Linked DNA regions of Homo sapiens: regions 1, 2 and 4 are each linked to region 3. Evidence: promoter capture Hi-C in 16 types of primary human blood cells and fetal thymus (Javierre and others, 2016). All regions are on one chromosome and are shown on one strand. The core of a region is centred on a gene start or on the middle of the fragment in contact, and the rest is flanking DNA. Distances in the headings are between cores, read along the strand shown. Region 1 holds the start of GPR65 (G protein-coupled receptor 65). Region 2 holds the start of SEL1L (SEL1L adaptor subunit of SYVN1 ubiquitin ligase). Region 3 holds the start of FBXO33 (F-box protein 33). Region 4 overlaps SEL1L (SEL1L adaptor subunit of SYVN1 ubiquitin ligase).

Region 1 (3,381 bases), core at 202-2,701, about 49 Mb before region 3:
AAAGGTTTATAAAGTTTTCAATGGAATACATTTCTCTAGCTGTAAAAGCATTTCCTGCCTTGACTTAACCACAAGACAGGATGGGTTGATGAAGCAGAGGCCCTCTTCTTTGTAGTGACGCAGAGGCAGTACAGGCTTGTGGTTAAGAGCGTGGGCTCTGGAGACAATTCGAATGCCTCTCAACAGCACTCTGGGCCCATTGGTGTTTCTTCACCTCTCTAAGTTCCAGTTTTCACATGTGTAAGTTAGTACCCAGTTTCTAAGATTGTTGTGAGGGTTAAATGAAACGACATATGAAGCAAAGTTCCTAGCACATGGGAGGCATTCACTGTACGTTAGCTGGTAATATTGTTTTAATGACATTGGTAGTCTGCACCAATCTTTGTGCTGTCCCCTACATTTTCTGAAAAGAAATCATCTTTAGTCATCTAGCCACAGCATAGCAGAAAAGCTGGAGGTGCTCAGAGTGTAATTTATATGGTAACACTTCACGTATAATACTAGGCTCTGCAGATAATAGTTGTTCATTTAATTTGGGTGGATCTGAGATTTTAGTGGAATACTGTATATAATTCCTATTACAGTATTCACATATCTTTTCAGATATTATTTTGCCTCCTTTAATCAAATTTTGAGAAAATTGTTTTTAGAACAAGCACTGAGAAATTTTGGTGAGTTTTTAATTTTTTAATTTTTACCAGATGTCAAAAAAGACAATCTACAGTATATTAAAGTATATCTATTCTTGAACAGATCTAAAAATAGTACAAATCATTGATGACGATGACCAAAAGTACAATATTTTCCTACAGTGTTATAGAAAATGCTTGCTTTCATCTATCAGTTTAATAGTTACTTATTAAGACTCTACTATATATTTCAGGCACTGTGGTAGTCACTTATTAACTAATAATTATTACTTGACATTTATTAATACTGGAAATATTCTTTCCTAATATCACATTTTTTTCTGATGGATATAAAAAGTATTTACTGGACCATTGTACAGATGAGGGATTGGTGCCAGATAGCTCTAAAGCCAGGGGCTGGTAGGCTTCTTCCTAATACTGAATGAAGTTTGCCAAAGCACTGTTTCCTGAAAAGAAAATAAAGTATGAACAACCCCCTTTTTCTATATCTATGGTTTTGCCTAATTAGTTCTAAATTTAAAGTTTGGCCCTTTACCACTGCTCAAAGTAGAGGAAACCATGTGTCTTCCTCATTTCTTTCTCTCTTATCATGCTTTGCATTACCACATTTATACAGCCTAAACCAGGAAGAATGTTGCGAACATCACTGACAATTATGCCAAAGCATGTTATCTACTTTAAAATATTATTTTATTTTTTAATCTTATACTTACCCATATTTCTTCCGGTGATGTGTTTGTTGACTGAGGAGCTTGATAAATCTGTGCCTGCATCAAGTCAAGAAGAGAAACCAACACTGCTGAGGGGACAGGAAATTGCACTCATATTTCAGCACAAACCAATGAGGAAGCAGCATCTCAATGAGAAGGGTGTGCGTTATCCAAGTTTGAACAAAAAAAGTCTCTTAAATACTTTTAAAGATGTTTTTATTTATTGTTTACTGTACTGTAATTTTTATAACTCACTTGTCTCATTGCATCTTAATTACAAGTATGTACTGATATTATATTATATGCCCTTTACTTAATGGAATATATGTTAAATATTTTATTTATTTCTTTGTTCATTCATTCATTCATTCATTCATTCACTCATCATGCCAGCAGTGTGCGGGGAGATGTATACGAACTGGCTATCAACCAAAAGCAGCTTTTTTTACCTAGTAAAGGAGAAAGACATGTTTAATAATGATTGTAATGCAATGGCAAAATGAAGAAGTACTTCAAGAGGGGTACAGATAAAATAGAATGAACCATTTGGATGTGTGAGATAGGGGAGGATATTGTAGGTAGATTCAGGGTGATAAAGTTCCTGGGACAAAAACAGAAAAGGGAGAATTGAGGCTGAGGGGTTTAATGATGGATATTGTGCTGCTTAAGGCAGGGGTTAAGGTAGCCAACCTCATACCGTCTTTCTTTTCTTTTTTTTTTTGAGAGACTAATGGGATTAGATATATAGTATTTGATTGTAGAACTATTTTCTCCTTTGATTCTCTCCTCTTGGAAACAGAGATGGCTAAAAACCAGTTGAATTAACTAGCTGAGACAAATAATTTTATGAAACTTGAAAATTTTATTTAAGACTTACATTGTTATTATAAAAACTCTTGTACTTTAGCAAGTTAAAGTTAATGCCAAATCTATAAGTGGTTTAATATGAAGTGAAATTAGCTCCTATAACTTTCTTACTATTGATATATAAAAAAGTCAGAAATATCACTTTTGAATCTTGCCCTCATAAACTTTTATTAGAAATGAAGGGAAAATATTATTTGAAAGAACAGAATTTATTTGGGATGAAAACATTTGACTTAATTTTAAAGATGTAATCAGGACATTTTGAATCTGTGTTTGTTAAAGGACATTAAGGGTTGTTGCTGGTGTTTTTTTTTTGTTGTTTTTTTCTCCCTACCCAGAGATAGAAAAGATTAGCCTGTATATAAGCAAGGCTTTCCATATTGAAGTTGATCAGGGTATATCAGGAATGTAAAGATTTTCAATACTTCCGTTGTAGGTCTTTCTTTGAGAATAATAAAACTAATACCTTACATTTATAAAGCACAGGATAGTTTATAAAGTAATTTAGCATATAGTAAATTATAAATCAATATATTGTTACTGAAATAATAAAAATTAAGTATAAAGTAAAAAATTAACAATAAATGTCTTGAAGTTTTACAAAAATGAAAAGTAACGATTTCAGTTTACTTGTGACTGTAATTCAAAGTTCTCATTTTTGCTTGGTTTCGTACATCTGCTTATCTGTGGTTTCTATACATGATATATCTTTTTTTAAGTTCGGGGTACAAGTGCATTGTTACGTAGGTATTTCATTACTCTGATGATCTCTTACTTTATCTGAATAGACTATACTTCTGCTTTTAGGGAAAGGGTATTTTCATGTCCATATCTAATATTCATGTATTTTGCTTTTCAAAAGAAAAAGATTATCATTAAGAAACATAAGAAACACAAACTTTCACTTCTGATTAAAGAGGAGAAAAAGCTGGAGCTGACCTATGCTAAAACCTTGCCAACTCTACACAATAAGAAATTTACCAGCTTTTAAGAAATTTGCTTCTTAATATGGAAAATATGGCAATACTGTATTTTCAACTATAGGGCTATCTTTTATAATGAACGGTTAGAAATTTTAAATCATTGAGTCACTGTGACATTTTAACAACATAACAATGAGATAAAGACAATTAGTAGTTATTCAGAACACTGCC
Region 2 (3,575 bases), core at 411-2,910, about 42 Mb before region 3:
AGTTCTAATTTTTTTTATTCTGTGAAAAGTGTAGCCATTGAAAATTTTCAATAGGCATATGAAAGCAGTGTTTAAGGAAAATTAATATGGCCATGATATGTGATTCAGGTTAAAGGGAGAATGATGTCAGTGAGTATGGCTGGAACTCAGGTGCATCATCCAGGTGAGAGAAAATGAAAGCCATTAGGGGAGTTTTCAGTGAGGAAGAGAACAGAGGTACATAATAAAATAAAACAATTTAAAAGTTACATAGTTTAAACTGATAGAACTTGATTATCAATAAGATGAAAAAGAAAGGAAAATATACCAGATTTTACTCTATGATTTATAATCAGAGGAACTCAGAGGGAACATTGTTAGTGACAGAAATGGTGATGTAGCTGAAAAGACAAGTTTTTGGAGGAGATAATTCTTTCCTTCATCTCCTCCGATGTGAATGAGAAACAGTGGTTGGTTTTTTACCATCTTCCTGAAAATAAAAGGCTGTATCTCAAAAAACAAAAAACAAAAAACAAAAAAAAAAAGGAAGGAAGACAAATGCCCAGAAGTGTTAAGACACATGGCCAGCAGAGACTTTTCCAAAGTCCTTCACTTGGCTGGACTAGGTTCTAGGCCTTAGAGCTGACTGTGGGTGGATGACAGGGAAAGCAGAATGACACGGTTTGAGAAAAGAAAGGGCAGGCACACCAAGTCACTGCTCTGCTACTCAGTTGGAACATGCCTGGATTTCGTGCTTATTACATAGAGTATTTCCGTGCCTGCGATGCAATCACTATCACCTCTACCTCCACACACGTGAACCTGGTCTCCTGACTTTAGTTAGGAAAGAAGAGAACAATGCAACTCACAAGAGGAGAAGGATGAGGACAAGTGTTTAAAATAATTTTTCAAAGCTGTTGGCACATTTTCTTTATGATTATTGTCTGGTGAACCTAGTGAAAATAAATACTGTATTGAGATAATCTGTGCCGAGCGGATTTATTTCCTTTTGTTTTGTCGGAGAAAGGAGGACAGGTACTGAGTTGCACCCTGGTTTCCGTACTTCACGGTACTGTTTTATCTAAGTTTTAAAAAACACCTCAAATTCAACTAGCTGTGGCATTTTTCTCAGTGCTCTTATCACTATGCCCAATTTAAATTTTTTAAATAAAACAGGAAAAGATGCTAAACACATTACAAGTTCTTAAAATTATTCCTTAATATTTATTTTGGGTCAATTTAAAAAGGCTTGTGAATCCATAGCCTTGAGTTAATATTTAGCCCAGGTGTTAGTTAAATTCTAACTTCAACAGTCACCCGCACTTGTAAATCTTGCCCTACGATGGACTACGTTTCCCAAGAGCACCCCCCGAGTTAATCACATGAAGCGCATTCTGGGAATTGTAGTCTCGGATGAGCCTCTTTCTCCCAGTCTTGGACTCACGCGCTGATTCCGGTTGAACCCAGGGGCTACCAATTAGCTGGGGCCATGTCCGTGAGTCGTGGTCCAACCGAGAAAGCTGGTGTGGGAGCTTCGTACAATGATTGGCCAATGAATGACCCCCGGGGCGGAGCAATGGGGGTGGGCGGGGAGACCATGGTGATTGGACCAGAAGCCCGCGACGGCGGGCGGGGATTGGCTGCGCGCTGGGTCAGGGAAGCCTGGGAAGGGGCGGAGGAAGGAGACTAGAGCAGGAAGAGCAGCGGCGAGGCGGCGGTGGTGGCTGAGTCCGTGGTGGCAGAGGCGAAGGCGACAGCTCTAGGGGTTGGCACCGGCCCCGAGAGGAGGATGCGGGTCCGGATAGGGCTGACGCTGCTGCTGTGTGCGGTGCTGCTGAGCTTGGCCTCGGCGTCCTCGGGTCAGTATCCGCCCCCTCGGGCTGAAGGCCCAGAGCCTCCGCCCCCCAGCCTCTACAGCCGGCGGGGCCGTGGGGACTCCAGGCTCGGGACCCCGTTCTCCCTGGGCACATCTCGCACTGGGCTGTCACTCGCTCTTTGGCTTTGCTTGGCCTGCGCCAAAGGGGCTATTTAGGAAGGTGGAGTGGGGTGGAAAAAGAAGGGGCGGTCACCCTGCCCACACCTCTCTCCCACGTAACAAACTTTGCGCGACTCTTCTCACGAACGCGGAATTGACTCCAAAGGAATGAATCCTGATACAGGAGCCCGAGTGGAGCTTCCTCGACCCTGGGGTAGAGGAAGGGTCTGGTCTAGAACTCTGGGCTTGGGAATTGTAAGTTAAATAATTGACAAACCTGGAGCTGTCACTTTGGGGCAGAGGAGGATCCATCCAGACCAGGATGTTGACAGTAGTTTGCTTAACACCTGAGATGGTCCCTGGTCTGTCTGTTTAAAAACGAAGACTTTTGATCTCATCGTAGCCACTTTTTACTTTTTTGAAACCTTCCTGAGAAAGCGGTGACCTGTCACAGTGTTTCTGAGTTGCCCCATGTTTGTTGACAGTCATTTTATGATGTTTGGGAAAATCTTGGTTCTTATAAGATGCGTTTTATATAGATACAGAAATTTGTGTGCTTTTGAATTGATTTTCCAGTTAGCTAATGTTTATTCTGGTTCTGCTTTTTTCCCCCTTTTTTAATGTTTTAATCTGCCTACATTTGAAAATTTCCATTTTGAGAGTGTTCATGAAAACTTCGTGTTTCTAAGTGTTGATAAATAAAAATTAGTACAGTAAAACTTTGGAATTTTAATCAGTTTCAGTTAACAGGACAGGTGTTCTGTGGCTTGACGTTTTGGGGGGACAACACGGAGTATAAATGTCAGCTTTTTCTTTTTTTAATAAATGTCAGCTTTTTTTTAACAGAAAATTTCCCAGATGGTTATCTGAATCCCCAAATTACCTGTCCTAGTTGTAAATCAATGCCATAACGTCATTCTGCTTCTAAAATAAGAGGCTTAAACCTAAATTCTATCCATGATGTGGTTTGAGATACCATTTCAAAAGCACCAACCCTATGCTAATTACTTTACTGCCAACATCATTCTTTCAGGTCCACTCCCCTCCCTCCAGTAGTAGTGATGGTTTGAGTTAATGACCAGATCTTTAGACTATACTTAACTCTCGAAGCACTTTTAGCAGTTATTTAATATTTGATCAAAAAGCATGAAATGAAGCTGTTGAGCTTAATGAGTAGAGTACCTGCTGGACCATGGACCTCCTGCATCAGAATTCCTCTTATGGGTTTGTTAAACATTGGGTTTTAGGTCTGGAACAGCTCAGGTATACATAGATTAACAATCTCCATGAGGGATTCTTCACACTAAAGAGAACTACAGTAATGAAAGAGCACGGTGTGTATCCCTCTGAATTTAATTGGCAGAGTTTAAAGAAAATTAAAGCATAGGAATTGTGCTGTCTGTCTTTGACTGCATTTTATATACTTAGAGCTCCATGCCAGTGGAAAAGATATTTGAAGATCAACAGTTGGGGCTTTCAGGATGTTGTAATAAAAGACTTAACACTGATATATTAAATCCTTGGGTTGTATTGATGTAGGTAGAGGACTGTATTCAAGAAATGTCTGCTCTGATTTCCATCATAGTTAAAGCTGTGCCACAACATTTCAATGGTAAAGGCA
Region 3 (3,749 bases), core at 1,035-3,534:
TCCACCAGAGCAGATACCTACCTTAATATTATAGTCCTATCCACCATTCGTTGCCTGGGTTTCAAATCCAAATAAGCATGGTGGTTGCTATAGTGACAATATGCCACTTTTGGAACCTGGAGCTTAGTACTACTAGGTACTTATGAGCTTCATAACGTCAGTACTTCCTCCCACACTCTGAATCATAGCTCAGATTTTATAACTTCACAAAATGTAATTCCATTCTGTCCTATATGAGTCAATTTTATTTTAGCAGTATAGAATATATGTCAAAAGAATCTAACTCACTTAACATGCTAAATATACATACTCAATATACATTTAATTAATAGTAAATATATTGGCCTGATAAGATAAATTTTGTGCAACCATTGGAATTCACTGATTTATTATTGAAACTGGGCAAGATTCACAGCTAATTCTTTAGCTTACAGTTGTTAAAATAGGATTCCTACCACACTTCATTTAAGAAGAAAGTTTGAAATTCTAAAATAATGAATTTCATTTATGGCAGACTGACATATTTTCATTTTACTCAGGAACCATTCCTAATAATTAAAGACTAATTATTAATGATCTCCAAGATGGTAGCTTGTTGCTAGCAAAATGCTAAGAAAAAAATATCAATCTCAAATTACAGTGCATTTCTAGAATATTAAAAAAAAAAAAGTCAGAGAACTGGAAACCCTCATACATGGCTGGTGGGAATGAAAAATGATGCAGCCACTTTGGAAAAAGTTTCCGTTTCTCAAAAAGTTATACATAGAACTACCCTACGACCCATCACTTTCATTCCTAGGTATCTACCCAAGACAAATTAAAACATACGTCCACATAAAGACTTGCACATGAATGTTCACAGCATTATTCATAACTCGAAACGACCTAAATGTCTGTAAACTGGTAAATGGGTAGTGTTTCATCCTGCCGAACCCACGACTGGGGTCGCCCTCTAAGAGTTCATTAAAATTAATAAGGTATAATTACCTAAAACTCTTGTAAACAGGGGCTCGAATAAGTAACCTATCACAATTGATAAACCACACCATGTTGTTGGCAACCTGATATGTGCAAGGCATTAAACGGAGAGCTTTGCCCTCAAAGGGTTAAGAACATCTAGAATGGGGGTCTCCTCTTTCGTCTTGGGAGCCCCCTCCGTCTGTCTCTGTAGTGGGGAGCTTCTTCCTTCAGCCTTCTTCCTTCTTTCTTGCCTATTAAATTCTCCGCTCCTTAAAACCAAAAAAAAAAAAAAAAGTCCAAAAAGTCTTGGTGTTTACCACAAAAGAACGATGCTATTCCAACATCACAGCCTCCCTAAAGCAACTCTCAATTATTACATAAAGAGGCAGCCTCCCTAAAGCAACCCTCGATTATTACATAAAGTCACTTAATCTTTTCTGACTTCACCACTCTTTGCAACCAGAGTTTACTTTGCAGTAGGCTGTGGTGAAGTTAGGGACATGGTTTGGAAAATCTAAGTTAGGGATACCAGGCAAAAAAAGAAGAAGAAGAAAGAAAAAAAATCAAAGCTCTGTCATTACTGTGAACTTTTCAACGAGAGCCTTAAATCTCAGCACAGGGAAAAGAGACCCTTCCTCAAGCCCTGGAGAAGAGGCTGGTCACAACCTGCGGATCTCAGATCCCTTTGCCAATTTTTTTCTCTCCCTCTGAATCCAAAGGGTGACGCTGTCCTCACTGCTTCCCCACACACCAGCGAGTGCGCGGAAGTCCACCTGCGTGGTTGGACCGAGGGGGCAGGTCCATTCGCGGCCTCCGCCACGCCCCACACCGCCCCTCCCGGCACAGCCCGCCGGGGTTAGCCCGCCCGTCCGCCAGCTCCCTCTCAGCGGCGCAATCTCAGGAATTCTTAACCCTACTCTGGGCAGGTGGGATGGCTGAGAAAGACCCTGCATGCCGCCACTTTGGCTCAGGGTCCTCAGCCCAAACTGAGAAACGTTTTACAAAGAAGCGTGACGACCTTTCGCACTAAACCAGAGTACCGCCACCTCCATCGACCGAGCGCCAAAATTAACCGACTTACAGATGTGACTGGGCGCAGCGGCCACCGTAAGGCGTAAGGGGTGCCAAGTGCCGGTTCCAGTCCCGCCCAGCCCCGCCCCGCCCCGCCCCGCCCAGCCCCGCCCCGCCCCGCGGCCTGCGTGCGTCAGAGATCACGTGCCGCGCCTCCCGTCCCTACAGGCAATCGGGCGCTCCCCTCTTCCGGAAGTCGCGCCGGTGCGCGCCGGACTCCTCCCACCAGCGGCGACGTCAAACTCAGCTCCTACCACTTCTCTGTCTCTGCCGACCGGCGCAGGGAGGGCTGCCTTTTCCTTACAGTACGCCTTGAGGCTTCCGGGCCGCTGAAGTTTACGAGCGAGGGCAGTGCAGTTACTCAGTGTGCCGGCCTCGGACGCACGTGAGTAGAGTTTGAGAAGACAGAGGCTGGCTCCCGGCAGGCCACGCCCGCAGAGGCCTTTCCCCCTCTCCACAACTTGTGTTCTACTTGGTTCCGCCGAGACCCACGACGGTTCCGCCCCCTTCTTCCTAGTCATTGATGTTGTTGTTCTTGTCAGTGCCGCAGCCCCGACCGCCGGGAGCTCGAACCCGAGCCGGGGCCGCCCGGGTGGCGCGGTGGCGGCGGCTGCGGCTGCAGCAGCTGCGACGGCTGCGGGGGCTGCTCCGGGTACTGCGGGGGCGGCCGGGAGCCGGCAGCCGGCGGCGGGGCCGGATGGCTCTGTGCGGGCAGGCGGCGGGCGCTGCGTCGCTGCCCAGCGAGCTGATCGTGCACATCTTCTCTTTTCTGCCGGCGCCCGACCGGCTGCGGGCCTCGGCCTCCTGCTCGCACTGGCGTGAGTGCCTCTTCTATCCGGCCCTGTGGCCCCAGCTCCGCATCTGCCTCCGCGTCTCGCCCGCGGAGCAGCCTCGGCTGGAATTCCTCATGCGCAAGTGCGGCTGGTTCGTGCGAGAGCTGCGTGTTGAATTCGCCGCCGAGAACTATCTGAGCGGCGGTGGCCCAGGGGACGGAGGTGGCGCGGACACCGGGACTGGAGGGGAGGAAGTCGAGGCCCTGCAGCTCTCAGCTCGTTGGCTGGAAGTGCTGCGCACCTACTTGGAGCTGGTGCTTTGCGTGCTGGTCAGCATCCGGAACAACAGGTAGGCTTGCCCTGAGCCCCGCCCCGCCCGGTAACGGGGGGTCGCTCCGTCCCCGCACCCCGACACAGATTCTGTGCATAATACGTGCCCGGCCAACTTCAGTGTTGCCTTCCTCAGTGACGGAGAGTGTTGGTTCTAACTAGGCGGTTTCCTTGAGCGGAAAGGCATAACGGGACTCATCACGATACTTTATAAACAGTGGTGGACGGGGTGTTTAACAGACACCACTTCTGGCGCCTTCCAGGCACTCATTCATCCTCTTGGTGGCCGTGGGATGGAGCTGACAGGCGCTGTCACTTTTCATTTTATATATGGGAGCGTTAAGACTGGGAGGGTGAGGCCTGTGGGTGAGCCTTGGAAGAAACAAAACATACACATAACACGATTTTCTGACTCTGAATCTGTTAGAAATAGTTCATGGTGAGGGAAGGAGTAGGTACTCATAGGACGCTGCCTAAAAGAAATTTTGTAACAGCCATTTTCTTACCAGAAATAGTTTCGGCTAACTGAACAAGGCCCGAAGAGGAGGAGGAGTGTTTGTTAAAGGGATTGGGGAAGAAGTTGATCTTCAGGGTTGAAAGTCCCTCCCCATACAC
Region 4 (3,552 bases), core at 700-3,199, about 42 Mb before region 3:
TTTTTTTTTTTTTTTCTGTCTCTGTGTTTGAAGTTTCAGTTTCTGTTTTCTAGGTAAGGCTTATTTTTGATTAGCAGTCAATGGCAAAGAAAAAGTAAATCAAAGATGACTTCTTTTCAAAATGTATTGTTTAGCACTTAACTCAGATGAATTTATAAATTATTAATCTTGATACTAAGGATTTGTTACTTTTTTGCATATTAGGTTAATTTTTACCTTACATGTGAGAGTCTTACCACTAAGCCATTCTGTCTCTGTACTGTTGGGAAGTTTTGGAAACCCCTGCCAGTGATCTGGTGATGATCTGATGATTTATTTAAAGAGCCGTTGATGCCTCCAGGAAACTTAAGTATTTTATTAATATATATATAGGAATTTTTTTTTATTTTGCTTTGTCTTTCTCTCCCTTCTTTTATCCTCATGTTCATTCTTCAAACCAGTGTTTTGGAAGTATGCATGCAGGCCTATAAATGAAAAACACAATTCTTTATGTGTATAGCATGTGTATTAATGTCTAACTACATACGCAAAAACTTCCTTTACAGAGGTTCGGACTAACATTTCACATGCACATTTCAAAACAAGATGTGTCATGAAAACAGCCCCTTTACCTGCCAAGACAAGCAGGGCTATATTTCAGTGACAGCTGATATTTGTTTTGAAAGTGAATCTCATAATATATATATGTATTACACATTATTATGACTAGAAGTATGTAAGAAATGATCAGAACAAAAGAAAATTTCTATTTTCATGCAAATATTTTTCATCAGTCATCACTCTCAAATATAAATTAAAATATAACACTCCTGAATGCCTGAGGCACGATCTGGATTTTAAATGTGTGGTATTCATTGAAAAGAAGCTCTCCACCCACTTGGTATTTCAAGAAAATTTAAAACGATCCCAAGGAAAGATGATTTGTATGTTAAAGTGACTGCACAAGTAAAAGTCCAATGTTGTGTGCATGAAAAGGATTCCTTGGTTATGTGCAGGGAATCATCTCACATGCTGTTTTTCCTATTTGGTTTGAGAAACAGGCTGACACTATTCTCTTTGATTAGAAAATAAACTCATAAAACTCATAATGTTGATATAATCAAGATGTAACCACTATAAATATGTAGAAGAGGAAGTTTTAAAAGACCTTAAGCTGGCATTGTGAAGGAACACCATGGTAGACTCTTTTTGTAAATGTATTTTGTATTTAATGAAATGCAGTATAAAGGTTGGTGAAGTGTAATATAATTGTGTAAACAAATCCTGTTAATAGAGAGATGTACAGAATCGTTTTGTACTGTATCTTGAAACTTGTGAAATAAAGATTCCACCTCTGGTTATCCTGTATGCTGTAATATACCACAACCAAGCACCTTTCCAGACAGACTTTTTTTAAGCTGAATGATTCAATTTTTTAATGTTTTTTGGAAATTCAGAAGCTTCTGAAAACATTCACTTGTGGCAATTTGAATTTATCTTTCATTTTAAACTCCTGAAATTCAGATTTTTACAAGTCCAATATTGCCCTAGGGAGAACATGAATTTGCTAAGAAATGTTATCTTTTAAATCTCTGATATCTTTGTCTTGAAGCAGCCTTGATATGTAGTAAGCGTGATTCACTTTAGCCTGATTATAATATTATTTATCTAAAGTTTGTTTATGCATTGCCTTGTCCCAGGAATTTTTTAAGAGGACTTGCAGAGACACGTACCACACAGTAACATTTAGACTAAATATGCTCTGAGTAAAGGAGAAATGAAAAAATATTAAATCAAGAGTGAACATGTACACAAAGTGCAATTGGAAGTGGGCTACAAATTTGGCCCCCAGCTTCCCAGCAGGCAACTCAAAGAGGTAACTGAGGTAAAATGTTCCAGCTCAGAAGCATTGGATCTTGGATAAAAAGCCTACATGATGCAAACTGTGGCAACTGAGATGTCAGATCTCAAGATCTCAAATTGTACTTGTGGGAGCACAGTCAGTGACCCCAGATGACCTTGACTGACCTAAAAGTTGTGGGGGAAGTCGGATGTCAGAGCCTTAACACCAGCAGGTGACCATCCAACCTGGGGCAATGCCTGCCTGTTCACCACTTAGCCTCTTTCTGGCAAGTCATTAGAATGTCCTCCATCTTCATTGGCTGCAACTTGATGAGCTACAGCCTCTTTCCTAACTTCCTTTATGATGCTAGTTTAGGTTGGTTATACCAGCTTGGAAGTATGCTTAGATTAAGTTACAGCAGATACACAAATTAGATGCAAGTAAAAAAAATCAGAATTTCTGTAGTAGAAACTACGAAAAATAAAAAGGAAAGTTTTTACTTTTTGGGTATTTTTTTACGAATAAGAAAAAGTGAGCGTTAATCAGTTCAAAAGGAGGTACTGCTGTGTAATGGGCTTTGTACGTTCCTTCTCATGTCACTTACGTCACTACTTCGCCATCAAATTGAACAAGCTTTTAATTAGATCCTGAAAATTCACTATGCTAGTAGTTTATTGGTAGTATTATATTTTGAGTAGAACTCTGATTTTCCCTAGAGGCCAAATTCTTTTTATCTGGGTTAATTTCTTTTAAACATAACAATGTTAATGCTGAATTGTATATTAAATCCCATTTCTAAAAACCACACAATTTTTTCTCATGTAAGTTGAGTGGAATGTGGTTAGTTAACTGAATTTGGAATGTTCATATAAATAATTTGTTGCTGCTCAATCCGGTTTCCCACTGCCTCCTCTCTACCGCCCAGTATAACCTCGTTAATTCACCTCTCGGACTTGGAAAGAATGTCTCATAAGTCTTGGGAGATAAGAGATTCAGGTATCCCAAGTAAGGATTCTAACTTCGAAAATGAATATGTCATTGAGTTTTACACGATTCAAGATTCAAACGTGGGCAACAGAAATCTCTGTTCTTGGAAACAGATTTATTTCAGGATGTGAAAGCCCAGCTGTGGGTTTCAGAGTTTGCACACCTGCATTTCCTCACCCTTCATCTGTGGCCATGCTCGTAGATGCTTTTCTTAGGAAAATTTGATTAATTGAACTTTTTTTGTTCTAAATGCAATCTGAAATGAGTAGAGACTAACGCTGGCTGTGCGTGCGTGTGTGAGTGCATGGTAGTGAGGGGTTGGGGAGCCTTCCAGCTGATTTTGTTTCCCTTAAGTACTAATGAAGAATTTACTTGAATTGTTCTAACCTGTACATGTATTTTCTTTGACCTATCATTTGGACAATGTTCTGTGGTTAACATCTTAAATTTTTTTTTTTTTTTTTTGAGACAGGGTCTCACTCTGTTGTCCAGGCTGAGTGCAGTGGCTTAGTTAGAGCCCACTGCAGCCTCAAAACTCCTGGGCTCAAGAAATTCTCCCACCCCAGCCTCCTGCATAGCTGGGAGTACTAGTGTGTGCCACCACGGACAGCTATTTTTTTATTTTTTGTAGAAACAGGGTCTCCCTATGTTTCCCAGGCTGGTCTCAAACTCCTGGTCTCAAGCGATCCTCCCACCTCAACCTCCCAAAGTGCTGGGATTACAGGTGTGAGCCACTGTACCCA

Evidence for each region. The method cuts DNA at HindIII sites, captures the fragments that hold promoters and counts their contacts. A CHiCAGO score of 5 or more calls a contact.
Region 1: the fragment with the promoter of GPR65 here is called in contact with the fragment with the promoter of FBXO33 in region 3 in 2 of 17 cell types (total CD4 T cells and total B cells); the score reaches 5.6 in total CD4 T cells.
Region 2: a contact is called between the fragment with the promoter of SEL1L here and the fragment with the promoter of FBXO33 in region 3, in 1 of 17 cell types (non-activated CD4 T cells). The highest score is 5.2, in non-activated CD4 T cells.
Region 4: a fragment that was not itself captured here is called in contact with the fragment with the promoter of FBXO33 in region 3 in 1 of 17 cell types (activated CD4 T cells); the score reaches 7.2 in activated CD4 T cells.

Annotation. Positions count from the first base shown.
Region 1 is chr14:88,003,205-88,006,585 of GRCh38, reverse strand. GPR65 (G protein-coupled receptor 65) reads right to left here and starts at 1,451. Exons shown (of 2, transcript NM_003608.4): 1 at 1,364-1,451. RefSeq lists enhancers at 7-66, 867-1,036. The HindIII fragment of the contact is 4,497 bases long and covers 1-3,381 here.
Region 2 is chr14:81,531,938-81,535,512 of GRCh38, reverse strand. SEL1L (SEL1L adaptor subunit of SYVN1 ubiquitin ligase) reads left to right here and starts at 1,660. Exons shown (of 21, transcript NM_005065.6): 1 at 1,660-1,838. The coding sequence starts at 1,769. RefSeq lists a silencer at 1,537-1,656 and an enhancer at 1,373-1,872. The HindIII fragment of the contact is 11,079 bases long and covers 1-3,575 here.
Region 3 is chr14:39,430,968-39,434,716 of GRCh38, reverse strand. It overlaps FBXO33 (F-box protein 33), which reads left to right and starts at 2,284. Exons shown (of 4, transcript NM_203301.4): 1 at 2,284-3,153. The coding sequence starts at 2,555. It overlaps LOC105370461 (a long non-coding RNA gene), which reads right to left and starts at 2,278. Exons shown (of 8, transcript XR_007064121.1): 1 at 2,198-2,278. RefSeq lists silencers at 1,686-1,855, 2,596-2,725, 3,166-3,295 and an enhancer at 2,246-2,495. The HindIII fragment of the contact is 7,836 bases long and covers 1-3,749 here.
Region 4 is chr14:81,470,708-81,474,259 of GRCh38, reverse strand. SEL1L (SEL1L adaptor subunit of SYVN1 ubiquitin ligase) reads left to right here. Exons shown (of 21, transcript NM_005065.6): 21 at 1-2,713. Among named protein-coding and RNA genes, the nearest start is that of LINC02308, 22 kb to the right of the region's middle. The HindIII fragment of the contact is 1,016 bases long and covers 1,442-2,457 here.